Regions from separate parts of the Homo sapiens genome. Here region 1 is linked to region 2. The links are contacts of gene promoters, found by promoter capture Hi-C in blood cells and fetal thymus (Javierre and others, 2016). All regions are on one chromosome and are shown on one strand. Each heading gives the region's core, a stretch centred on a gene start or on the middle of the fragment in contact. The rest is flanking DNA. Distances are from core to core; before and after follow the strand shown.

The links. The method cuts DNA at HindIII sites, captures the fragments that hold promoters and counts their contacts. A CHiCAGO score of 5 or more calls a contact.
Region 1: a fragment that was not itself captured here is called in contact with the fragment with the promoter of AVPI1 in region 2 in 1 of 17 cell types (M0 macrophages); the score reaches 7.6 in M0 macrophages.

The regions. Positions count from the first base shown.
Region 1 is chr10:100,370,918-100,373,617 of GRCh38, reverse strand. It overlaps OLMALINC (oligodendrocyte maturation-associated long intergenic non-coding RNA), which reads right to left and starts at 42. Exons shown (of 3, transcript NR_026762.1): 1 at 1-42. RefSeq lists enhancers at 1-49, 1-420, 150-479. The HindIII fragment of the contact is 2,501 bases long and covers 135-2,635 here.
Region 2 is chr10:97,685,930-97,688,684 of GRCh38, reverse strand. It overlaps AVPI1 (arginine vasopressin induced 1), which reads left to right and starts at 1,444. Exons shown (of 3, transcript NM_021732.3): 1 at 1,444-1,919. RefSeq lists enhancers at 400-1,353, 421-1,620, 1,354-2,307 and a silencer at 1,078-1,457. The HindIII fragment of the contact is 1,235 bases long and covers 1,320-2,554 here.

The DNA of each region.
Region 1 (2,700 bases), core at 136-2,635, 2.7 Mb before region 2:
GAGCAGAGCCCCGAGGCCGACTCCCCGGGAAAAAAAAAAAAAGGAAAAAAGGCTCCCGCCGACCTGTGATTCACAGGAGCAAGAGGCTGGAAGGACCGCGCCTCCTGATTGGAGCAGACAGAATCAGACAAGCTTGGGGGCCGCTGATTGGCTCCGGCGTGGTCAGGCGCTGGTGGGCTGTTGTAGGTGTAAATAGCTCTTGAAGGCCCGGGTCTGTGACCGGCAGTAACCCCGGCGAGAGTGGGTGGAGAGGGAGGCGCTTCCTCTCCATTCATGTCAGCTGCCAGCCAGGCCCGGGCAGGCCGGCCCTTTAGCGGAGGGGACTGGGCAGGACGAGGCGATGGGTGTCTTCGGAGATCTTAAGCTGGGCTGAAAGTTAAACACTCACCCGCAGGGCTGAGCCAGAGCTGGCACCTTCCACACCGAGCCCCTTCCTATCTGTGACTGTTGAAAAGTTTAATGTGATGTTCTGGGTGAGGACCGAGGCGTTGGAGGTCGCTAGGAGGGTAGTTTTACGGAGTCGCGTTAATGGCTGTAGTGGGTGTACCTTAGTGACCACAGGGAGGTGGCAGCCTGTCCTCTCCTCCTCCTGGTCACCGTATTCTATTTGCGGAAAAGGTAAGAATGGAGGCTTGGATAGTCTTTCTACTAGAGATGCAACTTCTCCCACCCTCTACTCCAGGGGAAAGAGAAGTCTGTGGGGAACTGGCTTTGTAAAAAGTAGGAAAGAGGAAAGGGACAAATGGGTACACGTTAAGAAGAGGGTGACTCTCATACATTGCTGGAGAAAATTTAAAGTGGTGCAGCCACTGGGGAAACAGTTTGATGGTGCCACAAAAGGTTAAATATCAAATTAGCATCTGGCCCAGCAACTCCACTCCTAGATATAAACCCTAATAAATTATAAACGGGTACTCATATTTGCACTCAAATGTTCATGGCAGTGCTATTCACAATAACCAAAAGGTGGAAGCAACTCCAGTGTTCATCAATTGATAAATCAGTAAACCAACTGTGGTGTATTCATACAATGGAATATGAATAGGTAATAAACAGGAATGAAGTACTGATATATGCTCCAATGGGGATGAACATTGAAAGATTATGCCAAGAGAAGGAAGCCAGACACAGAAGGTCATATATTGTACGATTCCATGTATAGGAAATATCCTGAAGTGGTAAATCCACAGAGACAGAAAGCAGACTGATGGTCACCAGGGGCCGAGTGTGGGTGGGAAGATGGGGAATCACTGTTGAATGGGTTCAAGTTTTCTTTTGGGGTGAAAATGTTTTAGAACAAAAGGTAGTGTTTGCACAATGTTATGAATGCACTAAGTGCCACAGAACTGGTCAATTTAAAATGGTTAGTTCGGCCTGGCACGGTGGCTCACACCTGTAATCCCAGCACTTTGAGAGGGTGGGGCGGGCGGATCACCTGAGGTCAGGAGTTTGAGACTAGCCTGGCCAACGTGGTGAAACCCCATCTCTCCTAAAAAAAAAAAAAAAAAGAAAGAAAGAAAGAAAAAAAAAGATGGGCATGGTGGCAGGTGCCTGTAATCCCAGCTACTCAGGAGGCTGAAGCAGGAGAATCGTTTGAACCCGGGAGGCGAAGGTTGCAGTGATCCGAGATCATCCCATTGCACTCCAGCCTGGGCGACAAGAGCAAAACTCTGTCTCAAAATAAATAAATAAAATAAAATGGTTAGTTTAGCCGGGCACGGTGGCTCACACCTGTCATCCCAGCACTTTGGGAGGCCAAGGGAGGAGGATCACTTGAGCCCAGGAGTTTGAGACCAGCCTGGGCAATATAGTGAGACCCCTATCTCAATAAATAAAGTGGTTAGTTTTATATTGTGTGAATTGTCTCTCAATTAAAATGTATCTCTCTCTCTCTCTCTCTCTCTCTCTCTCTCGCAAACAAACTGACAGACTAAAAGGTGAGTCCTTCCTGCTGTCCATAATTCTCTAAGAAAGAAATAAGAAACAGCAATTCTGAGTCCTCTGCTGCCTTTCACTTCCACTTTCCTCTCTGTTTTTTGAAGTCTGGCATGGTCCTGGTTACTGACTGCTCCCCATGGAAAATGGCCAGGAGGGAGAGGGCCCCTTCCGCCCCTCTGAGAAGGTCCTCGCCTGGGCCCAGAACCACTGTGAGTCAGCCCGGCATACACACACTGAGCCTTTGTGAGCGCTCTGTGGCCAGGGTGTAGCTGGCTGGGCGGGACCGCGTGGGGGAAGGGCAGGTCCGGGTCCTGAAAGTGGGAAGGCTTCTGCCTCCAGCAACCCCAGTATGGAATCTCAACTCCTTGGAGCCTGCAATTAGGGCCTGTGGCATTTGTTCCAAAGTCAGTGTACAAGAATCAGCGCTTTGCCTGCAGCACGGAAAGTTAACTACAGGTCACAAAATATGACTCCTACTCCCTGTGACATTTCACACAGTTTGTAGCAGTGACAGAATTTAGAGCAAGACATGAGCTCATTCTGTCATTTCCAGTGCTGACTGTTTAGGGGCAGGGAGACATTTCTGAAAGAGGAAGATGCTTTTGAGGAGCTCACAATCTTATAGGAGGGTGAAGTGTAGTTTAGGAAAAGTAGACAGGAAATGTTGGGTACGTATCTATGGTTTGAGAGGAAAGCTTAAAACCCAGGTGTGACTGAATGTTAAGACGGGTCAGGAGGTGGAGTGAGCTGGGTTCTTCCGGA
Region 2 (2,755 bases), core at 195-2,694:
TTCCCCTTCCCACCCACAACTTTTACAGAAGAAAAATCAAGCTTAAATGGATAAGAGGTCAGCTATGAAGTAAAAAGGAAGTCAGGGAGACCCAGGAGCCTTTCCTGAGCATTGCTGAACAAGTGCACAAACACTTCATCTTCCAAGGACAAAACAAGCATTTATCAGAGGCCTACTGGACACCCTGCCTCCACTCCTGCCCCCTCCAATCCAAGTTCCAAACTGCAGCCAGAGTGACCTTCTAAAAACACAAACTTGTCATGATGATGAAATTTGCAAAGTGCTGACTGACACTACTGGTACGTGGTAAGTACTATAAAATGCCCGTTACATAAACACAGTACATATAATGCCATTCCTTGTTTAAACCCCTCCAAGGATCACATGCAACCTTCTCTGCCTGCCTCTGCCTTCTACTTCCCACCGTGCTCTCTCTTGCTAGCCTTACTCCGGGTCGCATTTAATTCCTCCGGAGCCAAGCTACCTCCTGGCCCAACCAAATGCCTTTCCCTCTTTCCTTAAAGCAGTCTCCCCAGATCCACTCCTCTTCATTTGACCAGTTTCAACTCCTTCTTTATATCTCAGCTTAAATGCTGCTTCTTCAGCCCTCCTGAACCTCCCAGAGGAAGCTTAGGTTCCTCCATATTTATCCTCTTATAGCCATAACATTGATCACAACTGTAATCACATACTCCATGTTTTAGGTTGTTTAATGCCTGCCTCCCTTACTAGGCTGTAGACTCCCCAGGACAAGGGCTATAGGTCTTTCCGTCTCTCTTGTTTACGGCCTATCAAGGAACTCGGACAGCATAGGTCACTAATGAACATTTCCGAATGCATACAAACTTTAAAATACGGTCTTGTTTAGGTAACCGGCCCAAAGTCGCACAAATGACCCAATATTTGAACCCACGACATTCTGGCTTTGAAGCCCAAGGTCTGACTCCAGCAGACTGCCCCCTCCTCTCCCTCAAAGCCGGAGCCAAACGGTGGGCTGGGAGGGGACTTGAGCGGCAGAGTCTGAGGATCTGCAGAGGGCCACGCGCTGCAAGGCAGTCAGTGCCGCGCGCGCTGGCCTCGGGCCCAGGAGAAGGGGCATCCGTCACGTGTACCCGGCAGGGCCAGCTTTCGCCGCACCCTGGGGCAGGAATGCAGCCCCGCCCAGCTCCCGCGCCAGCAAAACCGCGCTGGCCCTGGGGACTGACGTCAATGAAGGGGGCGCCTCGGGCGCCGCGCGGGGGCGGAGAGGGCGGTGGGCAGGGCCCGGGCAGACACGCCCCCTCACCGCCGCTCCGCCGCCGATTAGGTTTGAGGAAGCTTCGCACTCCGCTTTCGAGGCCAGCGGAGGCGGGGGGCGGGGATGGACACGCCCCCTCCCTGTCTCCCACCGATGATTGGCGCACGGAACTCCGCCTTGGGTTTGGAAGGCTCGCCTGGGAGCTCATACCTGGCTAGGGCCGAGGATTGGCTGTTCCGGGGCTAGGGAGCGCTTTCTCCCGGGAACCGCGGCTGTGACCCAAGTGGCCCGGACCAGTTTGGGGCTGCGTGCGGCCTGCCTCAAGCAACCAGGTACGTAGGTCGGCGGCCCAGCTCGGCGCTGCGGTGGGAGCCGGAGGGCGACAGTCAGAGCCGGGGTGCCAGCGGGACGCGACCGCCAGATCCACTTAGGACCCCGTCGTTCTGCGAAGCGGCCACGTCTGAGTCCCGGGGCCTCCTCGTGCTGCAGATGTCGCCTTAGGACCTCGGCCAGGATACCCTCTGCCATGCTCTTGTGCTGCCCGTGATCACCGACTGGCCCTTGTAAGCACCTTCGCAGAGCTGCGCCTGCCCTTTCTGAAGGCTGTGGAAGAGGTTGGAGTGGGCGCATCTTAGCTTGCCCCATCCCCATTTGAGGTCTGTCGGAGCTGCCCTTCAGTGTGGTGAGTACCTGCTCCAATTCTCCACCGGGCAGTGGAGTGCAGAGGGTACAGAGGCTAGCTTGGGAGTCCTGACTTTGGATCCCTCCCTGCTCCTTCCACAATCTACAGAAGCAGATAGCCTCCGAAAGGCTTCTGGGACCGACCTTCCCCAGAAGACCTCCTCAGCCATCTGGCAGGAACAAAAATAACAGTGGCTTGAGAGCCCGGGTGCTGGGGTCAGACTGCCTGGGTTCATGTCCCAGCTTCCATCACCTGCCAGCTGTGTGACTTTGGGTGTAGCTTTCTCATCTGTAAAATGGGTATAACAATAGTGCCACCTTAAGTGAGGAGGAAAGAAAGCACCCATCTGAACGTGCTCTGTTCTGCGCTTGACACTGAACAAGCTGCCTCTATGATTTTAATCATAAAGCTATGATTTAAAAGTACACAGATTTGTTGATGGCTGTGATGATGAAAATGACAATGATTCTATAGCCCCTGGTAGTCAAACAGCCTTTCCCTTCATCATTTATTCATTCAACCAGCATGCATAGAATGTCTGTGGTATACCAGGTACTAGAAGGAATGCCGTCACAAACTTAATCTCCCTTTTCCTGTTAAGAGTTATTTATACTCACCATTTATTTTAAAAAGCTTATTTAAAATTTTATAGAGGCAGTCTTGCTATGTTGACCAGGCTGGTCTGGAACTCCTGGGCTCAAGCAATCCTCCCACCTCAGCCTCCCAAAGTGCTGGGATTACAGGCGTGAGCCACCAGGCCTGGCCTTATACTATTTTGATGACGAGCAACTTGTGGCAGGGGAAACTGAGACTTATCCAAGGTCACCCAGTTAGCA